Linked DNA regions of Homo sapiens: region 1 is linked to region 2. Evidence: promoter capture Hi-C in human tissues and cell types (Jung and others, 2019). All regions are on one chromosome and are shown on one strand. Each heading gives the region's core, a stretch centred on a gene start or on the middle of the fragment in contact. The rest is flanking DNA. Distances are from core to core; before and after follow the strand shown.

What was found. The method cuts DNA at HindIII sites, captures the fragments that hold promoters and counts their contacts. A contact is called where the count stands out against the background at its distance.
Region 1: a fragment that was not itself captured here is called in contact with the fragment with the promoter of RDH16 in region 2 in 1 of the 25 tissues and cell types used here (adrenal gland).

What each region holds. Positions count from the first base shown.
Region 1 is chr12:56,917,756-56,920,631 of GRCh38, forward strand. No RefSeq gene overlaps it. Among named protein-coding and RNA genes, the nearest start is that of SDR9C7, 15 kb to the right of the region's middle. The HindIII fragment of the contact is 7,973 bases long and covers 1-2,876 here.
Region 2 is chr12:56,956,195-56,959,152 of GRCh38, forward strand. RDH16 (retinol dehydrogenase 16) reads right to left here and starts at 1,414. Exons shown (of 4, transcript NM_003708.5): 1 at 956-1,414. The coding sequence starts at 1,268. The HindIII fragment of the contact is 7,259 bases long and covers 1-2,958 here.

The DNA of each region.
Region 1 (2,876 bases), core at 365-2,864, 38 kb before region 2:
CAGAAGCAAGCCACATTACAGCTGCTGGCCAGAAAACCCTGCTGCAAATGCATGTGTACAGAGATGCTCCCCAGGATGAAATAAAGCAATGACAAACAATTAAATAATAGCATTACAGAACTCAAAGAATCTGCTCTGCCAGATGCTTATAGGCTATGTATTATAATCACCCTCTCTGGGCCTCAGTTTCCTCTCATTAAAACTGGAGTAATAACACCTTTCAGGATTGTTATGAAAATTAAGGTGCTGAAACAACAGATGCTGGTAAGGCTGTGGAGAAATCGGAACAATTTTACATTGTTGGTAAGAGTGTAAATTAGTTCAACCATTGTGGAAGACAGTGTAAGACAGTGTGGCGATTCCTCAAGGATCCAGAACCAGAAATAGCATTTGACCCAGCAATCCCATTCCTGGGTATATACCCAAAGGATGATAAATCATTCTACTATAAAGACACATGCACACATATGTTTACTGCACCACTACTTAACAATAGCAAAGACTTGGAACCAACCCAAATGCCCATCAATGATAGACTGGATAAAGAAAATGTGGCACGTATGCGCAATGGAATACTATGCAGCCATAAAAAATGAGATCATGTCCTTACACGTTATACAAAAATTAATTCAAGATGGATTAAAGACTTACATGTTAGACATAAAACCATAAAAACCCTAGAAGAAAACCTAGGCATTACCATTCAGGACAGAGGCATGGGCAAGGACTTCATGTCTAAAACACCAAAAGCAATGGCAACAAAAGCCAAAATTGACAAATGGGATCGAATTAAACTAAAGAGCTTCTGCACAGCAAAAGAAACTACCATCAGAGTGAACGGGCAATCTACAAAATGGGAGAAAATTTTCGCAACCTACTCATCTGACAAAGGGCTAATATCCAGAATCTACAATGAACTCAAACAAATTTACAAGAAAAAAACAAACAACCCCATCAAAAAGTGGGTGAAGGATATGAACAGACACTTCTCAAAAGAAGACATTTATGCATCCAAAAGACACATTAAAAAATGCTCATCATCACTGGCCATCAGAGAAATGCAAATCAAAACCACAGTGAGATACCATCTCACACCAGTTAGAATGGCGATCATTAACAAGTCAGGAAACAACAGGTGCTGGAGAGGATGTGGAGAAATAGGAACACTTTTACACTGTTGGTGGGACTGTAAACTAGTTCAACCATTGTGGAAGTCAGTGTGGCGATTCCTCAGGGATCTAGAACTAGAAATACCATTTGAGCCAGCCATCCCATTACTGGGTATATACCCAAAGGATTATAAATCATGCTGCTGTAAAGACACATGCACACTTATATTTATTGCGGCACTATTCACAATAGCAAAGACTTGGAACCAACCCAAATGTCCAACAACGATAGACTGGATTAAGAAAATGTGGCACATATACACCATGGAATACTATGCAGCCATAAAAAATGAAGAGTTCATGTCCTTTGTAGGGACATGGATGAAACTGGAAACCATCATTCTCAGCAAACTACCGCAAGGACAAAAAACCAAACACCACATGTTCTCACTCATAGGTGGGAATTGAACAATGAGAACACATGGACACAGGAAGGGGAACATCACACTTCGGGGACTGTTGTGGGGTGGGGGGAGGGGAGAGGGATAGCATTGGGAGATATACCTAATGCTAGATGGCGAGTTGGTGGGTGCAGCACACCAACATGGCACATGTATACATATGTAACAAGCCTGCACGTTGTGCACGTGTACCCTAAAACTTAAAGTATAATAATAATAAAATTTTAAAAAAATGAGATCATGTCCTTTGCAGGGACATGGATGAAGCTGGAAGCCATCATTATCAGCAAACTAACACAGGAAGAGAAAACCAAACACTGCATGTTCTCACTCATAAGTGGGAGTTGAACAATGAGAACACATGGACACAGGGAGGGGAACATCACACATTGGGGCCTGTCTGAGGGTAAGGGGCTAGGGGAGGGAGAGCATTAGGACAAATACCTAATGTATGCAGGGCTTAAAACCTGGATGATGGGTTAATAGGTACAGCAAACCACCATGGCACATGTATACCTATGTAACAAACCTGCAGGTTCTGCACATGTATCACAGAACTTAAAGTAAAATAAAAAATTAAAAAAAAGAAAATTAAAGTGCTTAGAACAGTGTCTGGCATGTGGTGAGCACTCTGGAAGTGCTTGCTATTGTAGCATGTGGCGAACCGCACTCTGACTCTGCCATTTATTAGCAGTGTAATCTTGTGCAAATTACTTTACCTCTGTGAGCCTCAGTTTCCTCCTCTATAACATAGGAGTAACCTCACAGGACTTGTTGCAGAGATTAAATAAAATTGAATGGATAATATGTGGGAAATTCTAAGCGCAGTGCTTGGACTGAATAAATGTCCAATAAATGCCAGTTATTTTTATTTCTATTATTTTATTGTCACACTTCTCTTATCAGGTCTAGACTTGCACCTCTTCAATCCAGTTCTTCCAATTCATTCCCCAATGGCAGCAAAAGTGGTCTTTTTAAAAAGTAAGCAGTCTCAAAATGAATCTATAGTGACAGAAACACATCAGTGGTTGTCTGGAACCAGGGTGGAGAGGAGGGATGATTAACTGCAGACAGGTACAAGGGAACTTTCTAGGATGAGAAAAATGTTTTATATTTTGACTGGTGGTGGTTGTACAGGTGTAAACATGTGACAAGACTCATCAGATGGTACACTTAGATGGATGCATTTCTTTTTATGCAAACTTTACCTCATTAATGTTGATTAGAAAAAAAGGTAAGCAGCCTCCCTGGTCATCTATTACATTGTTATATTTTCTCTTCTCCATGGCACTTATCAGTATATAAA
Region 2 (2,958 bases), core at 164-2,663:
GTTGGCAAATAAAAGTCCACCAAGATGACATTTATGATGAATAAAAAGCAGGAAGGAATTTCATATCCAACCACTCAGTATGGATTACATAGGTAAGGCTATTGGAAGGATACAGTATTCTAAATAATTAAATATAATTTTATAAAAACAGTCATTATGGTGGAAAAGTGTTCATCTTCTCCAGAGAATTTAAGGTGACTGAAACTAAGAACAAAATATAAAATCCTAATTTTGTATAATTGTAAAAAGGACTTATGTGTGGATGACAATTTCAGGGAAACTTGTTTTCATCTTTATTCTTTTCAGTGTTTTCCACAAAGATCATATTCTGATTTATTGTTACATAAAATAAATCCATGTTTCTTTCTTCCTCTATAATAAGACAGATGAATTAGTGTAGTGAAAAGAAGAAAGAAAGAAAAAGTAACCCCTTACTAGTTCTGCCTTCCTTAAGCAGTCCTTAAGCTGATACTCTCCTCTGAAGATGGAGATGATCGTAGCTCTCAGTGGACGCTGATGGGCCCTAGCAAAAACAAGGTAAAGTGCTGGGAACATAAGCCTGGCTCCAGCACAGGCACAGCCTCCGTGCACACTTGCAGCCCTGTGCTCCCTTCTCAACGATGCTCCAGCAAGTCTCCAGATCTCTAACCCAGGCTCTTAGCATCAAACAACACATGACTTCTGCTTAGACAGGAGGGAGAGGATAGAGAGGAATTCTGGAGAGAAAATCTCATCAGGGCAAACTCTCCCCAAGACTAGACACCTCCAATGTCGGGAGAGGTTAAGGATTGAAAAGAGATGGGGTTCAGGCAGCCTGTTAAGTGAGAAATATTAGAAAGCTACTGTTACTTCAACCTGGAAAGACACTGTAGGAATCTTCCCAGGGAGCAGACAGGAGGTGGTCCCTTCACACAGAGGGAAGACACAGACAGACTTGACAAACCTGGGTGGTTACCTTTGTCTCTCACGCACTCCTTCACCCACTGGGCGGCTGCAGCAACGCTCTCTGTCTTGGTAACATCCAGGGTCACCGTCTCCAGCCTGTCTGAAGTCTGGCCCCTCAGCTGCTCGGCTCCTTTCTCCGTCAGACATGCAGCCAGCACCCGCAAGCCTCGTGCATCCAGCTGTCTGGCCAGCAGTTTCCCGAAGCCAGAGTCACAGCCCGTGATGAACACATACTTATCTCTCAGGTGGCTCAGCACCTGCCTCTCCCGGTACCAGTGCAGAAGGTAGTACAGGCCCACGAAAACCGCCAGGTAGAGCCACATGGCTTTGCAGAGGACAGACACAGACAGGCTGTGGGGGAAACCAGAGTCTGGCCTCTGTTCAGACAGGAGGATTTAAGAACACAGAGGGCTGTGGTAGGCAGGGAAGCCCTCAGGCATTTTGGCAGGGAATCCTCACTTTCCTCCCTGATGACTGCCTTTCTGCAACATATTTATTCTGGCCCCACCTCTCTGCTCTTTGAACTGCTTTTGCAGTACTCATGCACACCTTTGCACACCTCAAGTCCTGCCCAGTAGGAAGATACTATCTTCCTACTGGGCAATGTGCCCCTAGTCTCCTGATTTCTCTCTGCCTTGCTATGCCCACTACATGCATGCTGTGTCCATGAAGGAGCACACACATATATTCACACAGGAACATACACAGAACTCACACAGGCTTACACACAGCTGCCCACACACACTCTCCATGGCAAACACACCCCTCTGCTCTAAGTACAGGGGTCAAAACTGTCTCTACAAAGCTCCGATACCAACACTCCTGGTCCATGACCTTCTGAACATAGAAAGGCCTTATTGGGTAGCTACCCATGGTTTCCAGGCACATTAGGTGGAAATCCCTCTCTGAGCCTGAGTTTCCTCATCCTGCTCCGCACCCCAGAATCAATCACTCCTCTGAAAACTAGGGCACGGTCAGGCTGTCTAGGATGAGAAGGAGAAGGCAAAGAGTGAGCAGGAACAGGTTCCCTCCTGCTATAATAGTTTTTTGGGGCAGAAGGATTGCAGGATCCCACAGGGAGAATCCAACCTCAGAGGTAAAGAAAGCAGGGAGAGGATGGGCAAATAGGAACAGCTCCGGTCTGCAGCTCCCAGTGTGACTGATGCAGAAAATGGGTGATTTCTGCATTTCCAGCTGAGGTACCTGGTTCATCTCACTGGGACTGGTTGGACAGTGCGTGCAGCCCACAGAGGGTGAGCCGAAGCAAGGCAGGGCATTGCCTTACCCAGGAAGTGTAAGAGGTCAGGGGATTTCCCTTTCCTAGACAAGGGAAGCCGTGACAGACTGTACCTGGAAAAACAAGACACTCCTGCTCAAATACTGCACTTTTCCAATGGTCTTAGCAAATGGCACACCAGGAGATTATATCCTGTGCCTGGTTTGGTGGGTCCCATTCCCACAGAGCTTTGCTCACTGCTAGTGCAGTAGTCTGAGATCAACCTGCAAGGCAGCAGCCTGGCAGGAGGAGGGTTGCTCACCATTGCTGAGGCTTGAGTAGGAAAGCAAAGCAGCTGGGCAGCTCAAACTGGGCGAAGCCCACTGCAGCAAGGCAAGGCTTTCTGCCTCTATAGACTCCACCTCTGGGAGCAGTGCATAACTGAACAAAAGGCAGCAGAAACCTCTGCAGACTTAAACATCCCTGTCTGACAGCACTGAAGAGAGCAGTGGTTCTCCCAGCATGGTGTTTGAGCTCTTAGAACAGACAGACTGCCTTCTCAAATGGGTCCCTGAACCCTGTGTAGACTAACTGGGAGACACCTCCCAGTAGGGGCCGACTGACATCTCATACAGGTGGGTGCCCCTCTGGGACGAAGTTTCCAGAGGAAGGATCAGGCAACAATATTTGCTGTTCTGCAATATTTGCTGTTCTGCAGCCTCTGCTGGTGATACCCAGGCAAACAGGGACTGGAGTGGACCTCCAGCAAACTCCAACAGACCTGCAGCTGAGGAAAC